5 separate regions of the Homo sapiens genome follow, and all the other regions are linked to region 3. Evidence: promoter capture Hi-C in 16 types of primary human blood cells and fetal thymus (Javierre and others, 2016). All regions are on one chromosome and are shown on one strand. The core of a region is centred on a gene start or on the middle of the fragment in contact, and the rest is flanking DNA. Distances in the headings are between cores, read along the strand shown.

The links. The method cuts DNA at HindIII sites, captures the fragments that hold promoters and counts their contacts. A CHiCAGO score of 5 or more calls a contact.
Region 1: a contact is called between a fragment that was not itself captured here and the fragment with the promoter of UBE2F-SCLY in region 3, in 5 of 17 cell types (total CD4 T cells, total B cells, activated CD4 T cells and 2 more). The highest score is 5.8, in total CD4 T cells.
Region 2: a fragment that was not itself captured here is called in contact with the fragment with the promoter of UBE2F-SCLY in region 3 in 1 of 17 cell types (naive CD4 T cells); the score reaches 5.0 in naive CD4 T cells.
Region 4: a contact is called between a fragment that was not itself captured here and the fragment with the promoter of UBE2F-SCLY in region 3, in 11 of 17 cell types (activated CD4 T cells, naive CD4 T cells, total CD4 T cells and 8 more). The highest score is 11.6, in activated CD4 T cells.
Region 5: a contact is called between a fragment that was not itself captured here and the fragment with the promoter of UBE2F-SCLY in region 3, in 2 of 17 cell types (activated CD4 T cells and erythroblasts). The highest score is 6.1, in activated CD4 T cells.

Annotation. Positions count from the first base shown.
Region 1 is chr2:238,217,919-238,221,285 of GRCh38, reverse strand. No RefSeq gene overlaps it. Among named protein-coding and RNA genes, the nearest start is that of LINC02610, 12 kb to the left of the region's middle. The HindIII fragment of the contact is 7,996 bases long and covers 1-3,367 here.
Region 2 is chr2:238,177,051-238,180,652 of GRCh38, reverse strand. All of the region lies in intron 9 of ILKAP (ILK associated serine/threonine phosphatase), which reads left to right. Among named protein-coding and RNA genes, the nearest start is that of ERFE, 20 kb to the right of the region's middle. The HindIII fragment of the contact is 191 bases long and covers 1,818-2,008 here.
Region 3 is chr2:237,965,058-237,968,364 of GRCh38, reverse strand. UBE2F-SCLY (UBE2F-SCLY readthrough (NMD candidate)) reads right to left here and starts at 1,420. Exons shown (of 19, transcript NR_037904.1): 1 at 1,233-1,420. UBE2F (ubiquitin conjugating enzyme E2 F (putative)) reads right to left here and starts at 1,351. Exons shown (of 10, transcript NM_080678.3): 1 at 1,233-1,351. RefSeq lists a silencer at 1,128-1,307 and a cis regulatory region at 2,824-3,307. The HindIII fragment of the contact is 5,181 bases long and covers 398-3,307 here.
Region 4 is chr2:238,196,384-238,199,491 of GRCh38, reverse strand. The region is part of intron 1 of ILKAP (ILK associated serine/threonine phosphatase); the gene reads left to right. Among named protein-coding and RNA genes, the nearest start is that of ILKAP, 5.8 kb to the left of the region's middle. The HindIII fragment of the contact is 2,578 bases long and covers 272-2,849 here.
Region 5 is chr2:238,160,908-238,164,080 of GRCh38, reverse strand. ERFE (erythroferrone) reads right to left here. Exons shown (of 8, transcript NM_001291832.2): 2 at 2,365-2,487; 3 at 1,243-1,345; 4 at 82-344; 5 at 1-6. Among named protein-coding and RNA genes, the nearest start is that of ERFE, 3.5 kb to the right of the region's middle. RefSeq lists an enhancer at 423-923. The HindIII fragment of the contact is 268 bases long and covers 1,494-1,761 here.

The sequences.
Region 1 (3,367 bases), core at 712-3,211, 250 kb before region 3:
GGCCCTCCTCCCCTCACAGGCCCAGAAGTGCCTGCTCCCAGTGCCTGGCCTCTCCCTGTTCCTGGTGCCTGCTCCAATCTCAGAGCAAAGTCGGGGCTGAGCCCTGGTGCCATGAACGGCAGCAGAAGGCAGACAGATTCCTGGGCAAAAGAGGACGGGTCCCTGGTGAGGCCCTACCTTCAGGCCAGGGAGGGCCTGAAGGTTGGGGGCCAGGCTGCCAGTGCCGGAGCACTGGAGTGGGAACTTGTGATGCTTTCTCCGGGCTGCCCATGGCTGCCCCGGGACCAATCAGCATGCACTTCCTCCCCTTTAAGGCCAATAAAAACCTTGGCTCAACCAGAGCTGAGCAGATGGGAAAACAAGCCGCAGAGAGGAGCTACCCTCTCTGCTGAGAGTTTCAGAGACCTGCAGAGACCTTGGGACTACCGGTTGCAGAGAGGAGCAACCCACTCCAGGGCCTCTTCTCTGCTAGGAGCTGGGCAGACACTGGGACAATCCCCCTGCAGAGAGGAGTCACCAGGGCTTCCTTTCTGCTGAGAGATGAACACTCAACAGGACGACTTGCTTACAGAGAGGAGCTACCCGCTGCGGGGCTCCTTCAGGCTGTTCTAACAGTCAATAAAGCTCCTCTTTGTCGTGCTCACCCTCTGCTTGTCTGCGTATCTCATTCTTCCTGGATGCAGAACGAGAACTCGGGCAAAGGTGCCACCGGCCACAGAGGTTTCCAGTCAAAAGTGACACCCCAAAGATCCTGTAACAGGAGGATCACTTGAGCCCAGGAGTTTGAGGCCACAGATGCAGTGAGCTATGATTGATTGCATCACTGCATTCAGCCTGGGTGACAGAGAAAGACTCTGTCTCAGAAGAAGACAAAAAAGAAAGCCTCACAATAAAACAAAATTTTCACGGTCACAAATTCTGTTTAACTGTTTCCAATCTTTGGAAACTTTTTTTTTTCTTTAGTTGCAAAAGTTTGATTTTATTGCATTGCTGCAGAAAAGTATGCATGAAAAATAAGGACAATTTTTTTTGGAATACATGAGCAGTCACAATGAATTCATTTGCCATTAGAATATTGAAGAAAAATGTTTTGTCAGGTGCAGTGGCTCATGCCTATAATCTCAGCAATGCAGAGGATCCCTTGAGGCCAGGAGTTCAAGACCAGCCTGGGCAACTTAGTGAGATGCCCCCTCCCCACTGCCCCATTTCTGAAACAAAAAAAGAAAAGAAAACAAGAAAACTCTAGAAATGTCCATTGTGTGAAGTAGATTCCCTAAAATCTAAATCTTTTCCTTTGTGATCTATTCAAGTATGTGCTCTATTCAGATCATTTTTACTTTATGACAAAGTAGCAGCCACAGTGGATAATTATTGCAATTCATTTGAAATGGCATCTTCTCACTTTTTTTTTTTTTTTTTTGAGATGGAGTCTCACTCTTGTCACCCAGGCTGGAGTGCAGTGGCACAATCTTGGCTCACTGCAACCTCCGCCTCCCGGGTTCAAGCAGTTCTCCTGCCTCAGCCTCCTGAGTAGCTGGGATTACAGGCATGTGCCACCACACCCAGCTAATTTTTGTGTTTTTAGTAGAGATGGGGTTTCACCATGTTGGCCAGGTTGGTCTTGAACTCCTGACCTCAGGTGATCCGCCTGCCTTGGCCTCCCAAAGTGCTGGGATTACAGGCATGAGCCACTGTGCCTGGCTGGCATCTTCTCACTTTTTTGCTCAAACTTATGTTCGCTAGTTACTGAAACTTGTAAAATTTCTCTTTAATGTTTTGAAGCAGATCCTTTAGTTAGCTGACTTTGATAACAACTCTGTTCTGATAATATCAACATTAGAGGACTCAGTCATTTTCAGTAGCCAAAATACTGTATTTCTAGCCAAACTTATAGTTGTTTCCTATAATTTTTATATATTTCTGCAAGTATTTTTATTCTTCTCCTGAACATTGTACCTCTTGGCTTTTATTTCTTATTTATTTTTATTTTAAAAAATTATTTTGTTGAGAGAATCTTGTCCAGGCTGGTCTCCAACTCTTGGCCTCAAGCAATCCTCCTGCCTTGGCCTCTCAAAGTACTGGCATTACAGACATGAGCCACTGCATTCAGCCACTTGGCTTTTTAGATACTGAAACCTCCACCTCCCAGGCTCAAGCAATCCTTCCACCTCAGCCTCCCAAGTAGCTGGGACTACAGGTGCATGCCACCATGTCTGGCTAATTTTTGTATTTTTTTGGTAGAGCTGGGGTTTCTCCACGTTGCCCAGCCTGGTGGGCAGATAACTCGGGAGCTCAAGTTATCTGCCTGTCTTGGCTTCCCAAGTGCTGGGATTACAGACGTGAGTAACCATGCCCAGTCTCAATACCATATTTATCTAAAAACTTTTAGTATGAATTTAAAATATATTTTAATATAGTATTTCATTGTGGAAATTATAATATTGATTTACATTAATTAACTTAATATGAATTATAATATTTAACAAGTAGGTGTACATAAAATTTTGTATCAAAAATACAGAAATCTCTGGTGTGTACTGAGAGTAAAAGAAAAAAATACAGAAGCCAGTTGGTGGGAATGAAAAATGGTGTAGTCACTATGGAAAACAGTTTAGTGGTTCTTCAAAACACTACACATAGAATTATCATATGACCCAGAAATTCCACTCCTAGGTATATACCCAAAAGAATTGAAAATGGGCTGGGTGCGGTGGCTCACGCCTGTAATCCCAGCACTTTGGGAGGCCAAGGCGGGTGGATCACTTGAGGTCAGGAGTTCAAGACCAGCCTGGCCAGTATGGTGAAACCCTGTCTGTACTAAAAATACAAAAATTAGCTGGCCATGGTGGTGGGTGCCTGTAGTCCCAGCTACTTGGGAGGCTGAGGCCGAAGAATCTCTTGAACCTGGGAGGCGGAGGTTGCAATGAGCTAAGATTGCAATCTCAGCTTGCTGCAACCTCTGCCTCCCAGGTTCAAGTAATTCTCCTGCCTCAGCCTCCCAAGTAGCTGGAATTACAGGCACCCACCACCACGCCCGGCTAATTTTTGTATTTTTAGTAGAGATGGGGTTTCACCATGTTGGTCAGGCTGCTCTCAAACTCCTGACCTTGTGATCCACCCACCTCAGCCTCCCAAAGTGCTGGGATTACAGGTGTGAGCCACCGCGCCCGGCCTCAATCTTTCAATAACATTTTCGTCTCTCTTTTTAAGCACTCATCAACAACCTCGAGGCCCGTCGAGGTTCCACTAACAGTCTTCTCAAGGCCATTCCAGCCTTTGCCTGATGCCCAGTCCCAAAGACAATACCATATGTTTTGGGTTGGGTTTTTTTTGTTTTGTTTTGTTTTTTAGGCAAGATCTCATTCTG
Region 2 (3,602 bases), core at 664-3,163, 210 kb before region 3:
CAGCGTGGGTCGCTGCCCCTGAGCAGCAGAGCCCTGTCGTGGTCTGTTCTCCTGCCTGAGGCCAGGGCTGGCTGCCCCACTCTCAGCTTTTATCATTAAATTTTTCAGACATACAGAAGAAACTTGACAATAGTAAAACATTTCCAAATCTACTAGCAGTGAACATTGTGTCATGTTTAGTCTGTATAGATGTGTGTCAGGCTGAGCTGTTTAAAAGTTGCAGATATGATGACATAACAGCCTAAATACTTAAGCATGCATCTCCTGAAGATAAGGACGTTCTTGACATAATTAGTGAGAATTTTCACACCTAAGACAATAATATTTCCTTAGGTTAAGTTATCTAATACCCTGTCTATATTTTTATTTCCCGAGTTATCCCCAAAGTATCTTTGTTTCAAACCAGGGTCTAGTCAGCATCCATGTCTGCCGTGGACTTGGCATTTCTTTTTCTTTTTCTTTTTCTTTCTTTCTTTTTTTTTTTTGAGAGAGAGAATCTTGATCTGTTGCCTGGAGTGCAGTGGCACGATCACAGCTCACCGCAGCCTTGACCTCTGAGGTTGAAGCGATCCTCCAGCCTCAGCCTCCCAAGTAGCTGGGACCACAGGCATGTGCCACTGTGCCTGGCTATTTTTTTATTTTTTGGTAGAGACAGGGTCTCTGTCTGTGTTTTCCAGGCTGAGCTAAGTGATCCTTCTGCCTTGGCCTCCCAGAGTGCAGGGAATACAGGTGTGAGCCACTGCACCCTGCCGAGACTCATTTCTTACCAGGCTTTGAACCATGTTATAGGCCAGCAGTTGTACAGAGTCACCAATATTCTGAACCTGCGTATTTTTTTACGGTGTTATTTCTGTATATTTCCTATAAACTGGAAGTTAGGTGTAAGACCTTCTTTAGATTCAGATGAGATGTTTTTAGCAATGTTTTATGGGGGATGCTGTATACTCAGTAGTCCTTCACTTCAGTAGGCACATAATGTGACCCTTAATTAAGTTGCCAAATCCCAGCACTTGGCTCCGGTGGTGACAGCCGGATGCTCCTGTTGCCTTGCGTCATCAGCAGGTAATCTGGGGAGGTTCACTGGTACCTTGTGAATATTCTGTTTCCTGTCAGCCTTTCACCTAATGGTCTTAGCATCCCTAAATCATTATTTCATCAGGGATGTCAAAGATGATTTCCATATTCTGTGATTCTTTTCACATGTATTAGCGGGCATTCTGTAAAGAAACTTCTTATCATCAATAAGAGAACATCATAGATTCTTCTAAAAAAGCAGGGTCAATGTTTCATTCTGTCCTTTATCCATTTGAAAGGAAGATAGTCACCTATAGTTGTGGAAATCAGTGTTTTCCTTTCACTCCTCTGCTTCTTTCCCTCCATCCTTCCTTTGTGAATCACTGTGTGCCAACTGACTATTCATTGTGTTGTAGTCACAGTCATGGGGTTTTCTGCTGCTCACTTGATTTCAGATATGGCCAGTGGAAACTCCTGCTGGCTGGTTCCTGTGTCCTTTTCATATGTGTGTATTAATGTTTAAGAGCCAAAATCCAGGCTGGGTGCAGTGGCTCACATCTGTAATCCCAGCACTTCGGGAGGCTGAAGTGGGTGAATCTCTTGAGCCTAGGAGTTCAAGACCAATTTGGCAACTGTGGTGAAACCCCATCTCTACAAGAAATACCAAAAAATAAAAAAGAGAAATTAGCCAGGTGGGGTGGCACACACTTGTGGTCCTACTCAGGAGGCTGAGGTGGGAGGATTGCTTGAGCCTGGGAGGCAGAGGTTGTAGTGAGCAGAGATCATACCATTGCTTTCAAGCTTGAGTAACAGAGCAAGACTTTTGCTTAAAAAAAAATAATAATAATTGATTTACATCAGTGTAGGGAATAAATTTTTTTAAAAAGCCCAAATCCATGTTCTCGGGTGCTCAGTTCAGTTGGAGTGTCATTAGTTCTATGTCCACTCAAGACATGCAAAGCTAGGAAACACAACACATTTTAAATCGCAAGCTTGGAGTGCTATTTCTTACTCATATTTAACGTTACAGAGTTTTCTCTTCTTTGGTTTAATATTTGTAGCTCGTTTCTCTTAATGCTAGAAATCTTGGTTCTTAACAACAGTATATTTATTTGTTAAAACAGTTTCATAGTATCAAAATTATCACTACTAGGGGAGCAGAGGGCTCACACCTGTAATTCCAGTGCATCGGGAAGCTGAGGCAGGAGGATCGCTCCACGTCAGGAGTTTGAGAGAAGCCTGGGCAACGCAGTGAGACCTTATCTCTACAAAAAATAAAAATGGCACCATGGAGCCAGTTCTGGTGGTGTGCGCCTGTGGTCCCAGCCACTCGGGTGGCTGAGACAGAAGGGTCACTTGAGTCTAGGAGTTCTAGGATACAGTGAGCTATGATTGTGCCACTGCACTCCAGCCTAGTTGACAGAGTGAGACCCTGTCTCAAAAAATAAAAATATCCTAACTTTAGTTTGTGTTCCTTGCTGTTCTCTTGTCCTTAGATATACCTCACTAAAGCAGTACTGTTGGCACTGTGCGCAAAAGTGAAATAACTGTTTTTACTGTGGTTATTTTGCCACTTTGGTTATTAATATTATTAGTTTTCCATTTATTTTTATTCAGTTTATTGTTTTCAGTTTATCCAATTTATAAAGGGCTTTTTTCCCTTTATAAATTACAGGGAGAAAATGAGAACCCCTGTGCATGGCTGGTGGGAATGTGAAATGGTGTAGCCACTATGGAAAACAGTATGGCAGTTCCTCAGACATTAAACACAGAGTTAGCATGTGATCTGCAGTTCCACCTCTGCGTATATACCCAAAAGAACTCAAAGCAGGGACACGAACAGATATTTGCATACCTGTGTTCACAGCAGCATTATTCACCATGGGGAAAAGGGGGAAGCAACCCAAATGTTCATTGACAGATGAATAGATAAGCAACGTGAGATGTCTATATAACAGAATATTATTTAACCTCAAAAAGGAAGGAAATTCTGACCCATGCTACAAAATGGATGAACCTGAGGACTTTATGCTAAGTAAAAGAAGCCAGATGCAAAAAGACAAACACTAGAATTTCACTCATAGGAGGTACCAGTCAAGTTCACAGAAAGTAGAATGGTGGTTATTGGGGGGTGTGGGGTATGAATTCTGGGGAATGAATCGTGGGGTTAGTGTTTAATGGGAACAATCTCAGTCTGGGAAGGTAGAAAAAGTCCTGGGGATGGATGGTGGTGCTGATAACACAACAGTGTGAATATATTTAATGCTGCTGAACTGTACACTTAAAAATGGTTAAGATGGTAAATGTCATGTATATTTTACCACAATAAAAAACATGAAAAACTCCCTGTTGCATGCTTCAAAATCTAAATTGAGTAAAAAGACATTTAGAGATGTCATGCTTTCATCCCTGTCCCCTTCATCCTATTTCTTGATTCTTTCCAGTATTTCTTAACAAAAGTATGTAAATCTTTGTGCATTATTTTTTTCTACTTTCTTACATTGAAGGTAGCTATGTAGCAGTGAATTTTTCTGAGAAGATTAAGACAAGTTTTATTTTTATTTTACAAGGAAGGCAGCTGAACAGAT
Region 3 (3,307 bases), core at 171-2,670:
GTTGACCGACCATCTTTGGAGCCCAGCCCCTTTTACGTTCAGCAGTAAACCTGCCCCTTCCTGCACTGCCTACTACCTGAAAGGCAGGTATGTCCAGGTGGGGGGTCCTCAAGCCCCACAGCACTAAGCTTGGTGTGATTCTGTCTCTCAATCTCTCTCTCTCTCCCACCTCTATGCTCCCCCTTGCCTTCATCTCACTCCTCAGCCAGGATTCCTCTGCACCAGGCAGGCCAGTTTCCTCTTTGTTCCTTCACAACACCCTGTTCATTTCCAGAAGCTTCTATTCAGTCTGATACCCAGGTCTAGAATGCCCTCCTTCCCTTCACAAACGAATCCTACCCCTTCCTTAAGGGGAAGATTCCTACCTACATCCCAACATCTCCTCCTCCAAGAAGCTTTCTCTGGCTATTCCAACCCATCCTGCCCCCACTTCCAGGCGGTCGGGAATGCAGAGTGGGGGGACCCAATTCTCTCCTGTGACAGATGAGGAAACTGAGCCCAGGGAGGGGAAGGCCACACCCAAGATGACACACCAGCAGAACTAGGTCTGGAACCAAGACTCTGCTGCACTAATTGTTCCAAGATGCCCTTCCTTCCTCGTCTCCTTTGCTGTGGTAAAAATTTTCCAAACTAGCCTGGCCGCCCCCAGTTGTAGGTAAGCGTCCATACTTACTCTTCCCGCTGCAGGTACGAGGACCGGGCGCGAGTTGTCACTCCCCTCACCTCCCCCGCTCCTCACGGCCTAGCGCGACTCCTGCCCCGATCGGGAGTCCAGTCCCGGTTTCTGCGGCCACGTCGGGCCGGTGACCTTGGCCAGGCGCTGGACGCCCCGCTTCCTCCGTACAAGGCAGGCAGCCGATCCCGCGAGTGGGGCGTGAGCGCGGCCAGGTCTGTGCCACGCTCGGCCCAGGGCCTGGTTCACACCAGGTGCTCGGCGCGGGCCGTCCCCCGCCGCCGCCGCCGCGGTCACTCACTGCCGGGCGAGGCCAGCGCCCCGGCCGCCGACGCCGCCTCCGACCCCCGGCTCGCGGCCCGCGGCCCGCGGCCCCTTCCCATTCACGCCGCTCGGCCTCGCGTCCGGGTGCCCGCGCCCGCCAGGCCCCCGGCGTGAGGAACCCGGCGGGCCCGAGGCGGCCCCGCCACCGCCCGCGCCCTCCGCCCGGCCCGCAGGCCAGCCCGTGCACCGGCGGCCGCACCTCGCCCCGCCGCAGAGCCGCACGGTCGCTCCTCACCTGGGCTCCCCGAGACAGGCGAGGCGGGCCCGGCGCCCAACACCATGCCCGGTCCGGGCGGCTGCTGCGAGACGCGGCCCCTCACAGCCGCACCGGCTCCCGGCGGCGGGACCGGAAGTGGCGGGGCGGGGACTCGGCCGCTCTCGCCCGCGGCAGCCGAGACAGCAGCGGGCGCTTTAAAAAAAAAATTCAAAGTCGCGAAAAACTTTATTTGGAACCAGACACGCGAACAGCGGCGTGCGCCGATCGGGACTGGGCTGGGCGACGGGCCTCTCGGACCTCGCTCATTGGCAGAGGGCGCGGCCAGGGGGCGGGCACGGATTTCGCAACCGCCGCTGATTGGCGAGTAGCGTTAGGGGCGGGGATTCCGAGTTGGCTCTGGAGCCCGAGCGCCGGAGGGCTGGGGGTTTTGCACCTGGTTCCAACACGGGTTCACTTCGTGGTCTGCAGGGTTTAGGGGCACGGAGGAGCCCGGGCTATCCTTCCCTGAAGGAGCGGCCTCCGTGGCTGGAGCTCCCGCTGTCCAGCGCCGCACCTGGAGTGCAAAGGACTGGACAGGCCCCCGCAGCCTGCAGTGCAGGCGGTGAGGGAGACCGGGCGGTCAGACACGCAAGCCACGACCAACCCCAAACCGTGTGCTGCGCCCACAGGCCCCACTGTTCTTGTCATGTCCCTTTTATTCCTTCTTTTCTCTCTTAAATGTGTTTAAAGTACCTTAAAAATCCATTTCAACTTGTCCTCTTTTGGGCGCCCAGATTCATCCCGCGCCCATTAGCGTCCTGTGTGATTGACGAGGGGCCGTCCTGGGCGTCAGGCAGGCCCCTGGAGGAGTGGGCCATTAGAAAGATGAGGTTCAGCATGGAAACGGTCAGAAAGAGACAAGGAGTTAGACTTTCATTTCGAAAAACCCCACTGAGAGGTTTCTAACAGTGGAGTGACTATCAGGTTTTCTTCCTAAAGGAGGCTGGCGGGCCCGGTGGCTCACGCCTGTAATCCTAGCACTTTGGGAGGCCAAAGTGGGAGGATCCCATGAGCCCAAGAGTTTAAGACCAGCCTCCTGATGGTGGCAAGACCCCATCGCTACAAAAAAAGAAAAAAAAAATTAGCCGCGTGGTGGCGCGCGCCTGTAGTCCCAGCTACTCAGGAGGCTGGGATGGGAGGATCACCTGAGCCCAGGAGGTTGAGGCTGCAGTGAGCCGTGATCGCACCACTGCACTCCAGCTTGGGTGACAGGGCAGACCCTGTCCCCATAATAATAATAAAGGCTTTGGCTCTAAGTGAGTCGGTGGGAATGGAGTCAGGAAAACTGGTCAAGAACACAACTCAGCCGGGCGCAGTGGCTCAGGCCTGTAATCCCAGCACTTTGGGAGGCCGAGGCAGACAGATCACCTGAGGTCAGGAGTTCAAGACCAGCCTGGCCAACATGGCAAAACCCCATCTCTACTAAAAATACAAAAAAGCCGGGCGTGGTGGTGCGCCCTTGTAATCCCAGCTATTTGGAACGCTGAGGCAGGAGAATTGCTTGAACCCAGGAGGCGGAGGTTGCAGTGAGCTGACACTGCACTCCAGTCTGGGTGACACAGCAAGACTGTTTCCAGAAAAAAAAGAAAAAAGAAAGAACACAACTTGTGTTATTTCTTGTGTTTGGGACCATGTCTCTCCCTTTTTTGCCCGGCTAACTCTCAAGTTTTCCTAAGCTAAGACACCAACTTCTGATAGGCCTCAAAGCCTGGGGGTGGGGTGGGGCAGTGCAGGTGCCCTCTGTGTCTTCCTTGGAGCCCTGCACTTCCCTCTTCCTTATTGTCATGGCCTGTTTCCCTGACTAAGCTCAGCTCCTCAGCCCTCCTCTTCCTTCTTCCTCCAGCGTCACCTCCTGCCACCCCCTTTCCCATCCTGGAACATGCAGGTGATTAAAACACATCTGCTGGATAGAGATTGCATGCGCTGGCGGCATGAGTCCTGGTGAGAGGAGATAAGGGCTTGAAGATTGCAGTGTGTGAAGGTGCAGCCGGAATGGCGTGAGCACTTGTCTTACTCATAAGCGTCACTGTCTGCAGAATGGATTGCACCACACA
Region 4 (3,108 bases), core at 311-2,810, 230 kb before region 3:
TGGCCCATCAACAGAAAGTTGCTGAGGAACTATTTACCTTTTCACCCATCAGATTAGCAACAGTTGGTAACATTGGTGAATGTGTAGCGAAGTAGACTTTCTCATAAAGTGTTTTGGGAGTGAAAATTACAACTTTTTGGGGAACAGATTTTGGCTTCTATCAGATTTAAACTAATATCCTTTGACGAGCAGTCTAGCAGATTAAGCAGGAATACATGTATCAGATTGTTGATTGTGGCGTCACTTATCATATGAAGAACTGGGAAAAGCTTGAACCCATCAGTAAGGATCTGGTCGAATGAGTGGAGATGCTTCCCATGTGTGGCTGTTGGAGAGGATGAATTAGACTTGGGTGTGTTGGCCTGGAGCATGCCTTGATGGGTTATGTGAACACTATATGTGGAGTATTGTGTAGAGTATGACTCTGTCTTCTACAAATTAAAATGCATGAGTCCATGTGCATGAGCATTAAGGAAAGTGGAAAGGATACACTAAACTCATACTGTGGTTGGGGGGTGTGGCGGAACCTGTCCCCCCTTTTTTCTGATAATACCTCTGTGGTGTTTGGAAAACACCTGGATTTATTTTATAGTTGAAAAAATTGAGGTATAAAAAACAATTTAGCCAAAATATTTTAACATCCTTTTTTAACTTTATTGGATACAGCAACCTTTAACCTGAATATGATCAACCCAAGGGTATTTTTCTCAGCATAGTATATAACTTCCAGTAGACTTAGCTCCAGAATGTAGATAACTGAGGAAAAAAAAAAGTTCTAGATGAGATTAACTATGATTAATGGACATTTTTAGTCTTGTATTCTTATTAGGGTTCTAATATTTTTAAGATTAGGGGAGGGGCCTCTTCCAGATTTTTAGGTCAGGGTCACACTTTGTCCAATGATTGCAGCCCCCAATGCTTTGAATTTCAGTTTATTCAAAATAGAATGTAAGGGCCTGGAGCAGTGGGTCACATCTGTAATCCCAGCACTTTGGGATGCTGAGGCAGGAAGATTGCTTGAGTACAGTAGTTCGTGACCAACCTGGGCAACATAGTGAGACCCCGTCTCTACAAAAAGTTAAAAAATTAGCTGGGCATGGTGGTGTATGCCTGTAGTTTCAGCTACTCGGGAATCTGACGAGGGAGGATTGCTTGAGCCCAGAAGGTTGGGGCTGCAGTGAGCTGTGATCACACCACTGCACTCCAACCTGGCTCACAGAGCGAGACTCTTGTCTCAATTTAAAAAAAAAAAAATCTAAGGTTTTGACTAATCAGTAGTTTCCTTATGTATCTATGACCTATAGATTTTTTTTTAAAGAATCCACATACAGACTTCTAAGTTAGATTCTTTTGATGATGCAAAAATTATTTCCAGAGATTTTATAAAATCTCAGGATTATCATCATAGGATTGTTGTAAGGGTAAAATGAGTTGATGTTTATGAAGTTTCTGGAAGGGTGCCCATGTATGGAGGCAGCATAGTACCTCACTAAAAGCACGGACTGCATGGCTTTGAATCCCCACTCCACTCCTTACTGGCTCTGTGATCTTGAACAGGTAATTGACCTCAGTGCCTCAGTTTTTTCATCGGTAAATAATAATAGTACCTATCTCATAAGAATTAAATGAGAAGATGTGTGGAGCTCTTAGAATAGTGCCTGACAGGCAGGCAGTATTATCATTTTTAGAAGCCATTCCCAGTTGTGGCCAGCAAAATGTAGGATGGTCTCATTGTGTTTAATTGAAATACCTCTCATAGTATTCCAGAGTGAGAAAGAAGGTGATAGGCAGTTCTCTGGGGATGGGGCTCAGTTTGGGGCACCATCTGACTGAATTGTAGCCAGAGGAGAGGCGGCCAGGCTAGTATTAATACTAAGCTGTAAGTTGCATTGTGAGGAATGCTTACAAGAACTGAAAATATATTTATTACCTGGGTAAAAGAAGACTTCCTCCCTTGTACAGTGGCAGTGGAAAGACCTGATTTAGATGGGCAAGTTAATTCAAAAGTTAAAATATGACCTGGTACAAGCGGAAGGGTTGTTTGCTCTTCATGTTGGGCTGTTACCTGTAAATGTCCCCTCCCTTGTCCTAAGACATCTGGCTCTGTGACACCACTGAATGCAGCGTGATTGTCTGGAACATCTCATGTGGTTTTTGAGTCTGTCCGGAGAACGGGCGTTGTGATTGTTAGACCCAATGTTTGGGCAAAAGTGACCTACTTCGGGATATTAGGAATTCTTGTAAGTGGATTAATACATTGAGTAATGGTTATCCTAAATACTTTTTTTGGGTGCTGGGGACAGAGTCTGGTTTTGTCCCCCAGGCTGGAGTGCAGTGGCGCTATCTCAGCTCACCGCAACCTCCGCCTCCCAGGTTCAAGCAGTTTTCCTGCTTCAGCCTCCCAAGTAGCTGGGGCTACAGGCACCCGCCACCATGCCTAGCTAATTTTTGTATTTCTGGAGAGACAGGGTTTCACCATGTTGGTCAGGCTCATCTTGAACTGCTGACCTCAGTCCTGACCTTGACCTCCCAAAGTGCTGGGATTATAGGTGTGAGCCACCACACCTGGCCATACTAAATACTTTTTAATGGCTTTCTTCTGCTTCTTGTATACTTCTAATAGAGTCTTTATGTCACTTGTAAGAAAAGTGAAAGTATTTGCAATTCCTTAATTTGTTTAGGGTCATCCTGAAGGATTAGAATACATTTTCCCATTTGTATTAGGGATATAAAGCAAAATAGTTATTTTTTGTTAACTCAGGAATTTCTTGTGTATTTTAGGTACTTCTGACGCAAAGACCCCGGGAGAAATTTCATTCCCTTAAGTTTATAAATTTTTAATTAAAGCTTTTGTTTTTAAAAGAAGAAAGTTGATACCCAGCTCATTTCTAAATGGAGGCAAAAAGATGATAGGGATGACCCTCTTGGGGGATATAAATTTATTTGTTTAGTTGAATTGGTGTTTGGCCTGGCACAATAGCTCATACCTGTAATCCCAGCACTTTGGGAGGCTGAGGCGGGTGGACCACTTGAGGCCAGGAGTTTGAGACCAACCTGGCCAACATGGTGAAACCCCGTCTCTACTAAAAATACAAAAATTAGACCAGA
Region 5 (3,173 bases), core at 378-2,877, 200 kb before region 3:
GTCGGGCTGCGAGGGGCACGGATGGTCACCCCGGCTCCCGCCCGGCCGGACTCACCCGCCCTCCCGCGCGCCGGCACTCACCAGGTAGTAGACGCCAAGCTCGTGCAGCGCGCGCCGCTCCACCAACGCGTCCCGGCGCAGGCGGCAGAGGAAAGCGGCCTCCACGCGCGGCGCCCGCGGCCCCGGGGCCAGGGGCGCGGCCAGCAGTGCCAGCACGTCCCCCACCACGTCGTCGTCGTCCTCCCCGGCGGTGGCCGAGACCGGGGCGAGGCTCGCAGCGACCGGCCCGGCGGGGCCACACGTACAGGGTTCGGGCTCCGCGCGCTCCCGCTGCCGCACCGCACCTGGCACAGAGCGAGCGGTGGCCGCGCGCCAGGGACCCCTCACCCGCCCGCCGCGTGGGTCCAGCCCTGAACGACAGGTGCTAGCGAGACCAGGGGCCTGCCGGGCGCAGGGGTGGGGCGAGGGCGACGTCCCCTCGGCCTGAAGGGCCTCGGAGTCTTTGCGTCCTGACCCTGCAGCGGCTCCCGTTTCCCTCAAGATTTGGGAAGCTCGGGCAGAAGTGCCCCAGCGCCCTTGGCCTCCAGCCTCACCTCTACCCCACCCACATTTTCCAAAGACGCTGGGGGTAAAATAAGCGATTGCAGCTTTACTGGAAGTACAAGGAGGTTCTTCAGCGCAGAAGGTGCTATATTTAAACGAACAGGACATTGAACTAAAAGGAAAAAACGGCTCAATTCTAATGACTAATGTGAGCCGCCGCTCTGCAGGAGGCCTCAGTGTGGACTCCGCGGCTCCACTCAGCCCTGCCTCCTCCAGGGCAGGCTGCCCCAGCCCTGGCCAGTGGTGACTGTGGGTGCCAGGCTGAGCTCCACCTGGTGCTGCCCCATACACTAGCCTCTGCCTTTCGCTGGGCTCTCCTGACTTCCAGGCAGGGCATAGGCGCTGGTCCCTGAGCACCCGCCATACTGAGTGGCCAGGTCCACCTTCCTCTGTGAAGCCTTCTCCTGGCCATGGTTCCCAACCCCCAGCCATCCCCAGCCCTGACCCTTGGCAGACATGGGCCAAGATGGGGCAGAGACTGGACCTGGCCAGCTCTACTGTCCTTGAGTCCAGCCCAGAGCAGGTGCCTCCTTGGGTGCCCGCCGAAGTGTTGAGGTTGGCCCTGTCAGCTCCTCGGGACACCCTCCCAGGCCCTGCTCACAGCGGGGTGTGTGTGTCCCAGCCGGTGCACACCCCTACCTTTCAGCAGCAGCTGGAACTCCTTCAGCAGCGCCTCGGGTGGGATGATGGGGCCTGGGGGGCCCTGGGGACCGGGAGGCCCAGGGGGCCCTGGCAAGCCGAACTGAAAGGGAACCTTGGCAGTGAGGACATGTGAGGAGCAGGCTGGGAGCCACAGCATCCCCTGTGCAAGCTCTTGCCACTAAGAGGCAGGCAACAGAGCTCCCCAGTGGGCTCCAACCTCCAGCCAAGGATCTACCTCAGTGAAAGCTTCTCCTGGAGTGAGTACAAGGACTGTGCTGGAGGTGGGGGCCCTCGGGGCGGGGCTTTGGCAGGGAAGGACTCTGCTCTGAGTGGGGAGGCAGAGGGCTGAAGCCCGCTCCTGCGGCCAGGCCTCGTGGAGGGAAGAAGACTCTAGGCTGCTTTTGGGGACTTGCATCTCAGGGTCTGCACTGGGCCCGAGTCCACCATCAGCAGGTCCCCACTAGGCTGGGTTGGGACCCGAACCAGAAGCCAGTGAGCCCCCTGTGGGGAGAAGCTTAGGGCAGGGCCAGGAGGCTGGGCAGAGGTAGAAGGCCAGGCCACGAGGACAGCGCGGCCTGTGCACCTGCCTCATGCACTCCGAGCTGGCCTTCCATCGTGTGTTCAGATCCCAGGCAGGTGATACTGGCCCCCAGGGGACAGAGAAGCCCACACCCCGTATTTTCCATTTTGGGGGCTCCAAGCAGGAGGCAGCACCAGGACCAAGCACCAAGTTTCTGCCCAGGCCAAGACCTAAGGCTGAGTGAGGGTGAGAGGGACCCTGTGCCCCTAGTCCCTGGGAGCCAGGCACTCCTGCAGGCCCCTCCAGTGTGGACAAGGTTCTCACCACAGCCTGGGCTAGCCCAGCCTCCCTGGCCTGGATGCAGAGGGAGGAGAAAAGAGGGAGAGCCTGGCATTTTAGGGGTGTGGGGAAATGGTTGGGACCAGGCCCCTAACTCGGGGCTCCCCCTGGGGCTGCCTGGGTTCTCTCTGTTCTCTGTCCCCAGGCCGAGGCGTGAGGGGTGTGCTATTGGAAATGTTCAGGATGTAGGAGTGGGAGTGGATGAGGAGCGAGGAGGCGGAACCCCCCACGGCCTGGCACTGACGGGATGCCGGCCTCACCTTCAGCTTCTTGGCCTTGCCCCTGCTCCTCTTCTTGCCATTGACACCCTTGTCACTCTGCCTGACGAAGAGCATCCAGGCGTCCCGGGGGTCGACGCTGTGTGCACGCTCAGCGGTGGGCTCCTGGAACACAGCCAGCCCAGCAGGGCGGTTGGCCTCACTGGGCTCCTACCAAGCAGGTGGGACACTTTGCAGGAGGTGACTGTGTGGCCTTCTGTACTCTGGGACCCTGGTCCTTGTCACCTGTGGTGCCCTCAAAGGCAGCTCCCAAAGGGGCCCCAACCCCTCACAGCTTCTCCCCCGGCCCGTGGAGGATGACTCCTAGGGAACGGGCCACACCTCGGCCTGGACTTGGCACTCATGGGAGAGGCAGACCCAAGATGCCTGGAGGGAAAATGGGGTGCAGGGCTTGGATATCGGGGTGAATCCCCGTACTGCTGGGCCTCCTTCCTCCAGAGGAGCTGCAGTGATCACACCGTCCTCCAGTCACCAGGAGGATCCGACCACTGGAGCACCCATAGGTGCTCAGGAAGAAGCAACTGTGATTATCAGGGAGCCCAACTACTAGCCAACCCTCCTCTGTCCATCCTCCCCCAGTGTCAGAAGTTCTAAGGAGGCAAATTCAGCTCTCACAGCTGCCTCGGGTTACAGTCCAGTGGGGGAGAGGACCAGGCGAGCTGTCATGACGCGAGGCCTCTGTGTGAGACTTTCATTTCCTCAGCACTTCTGAGACACTGACACATGGACAGTGATGCTTCCGGAAGTTCCCATTCCTGTCCGCGCTGCATCCTGACTGATGCTGACACTGA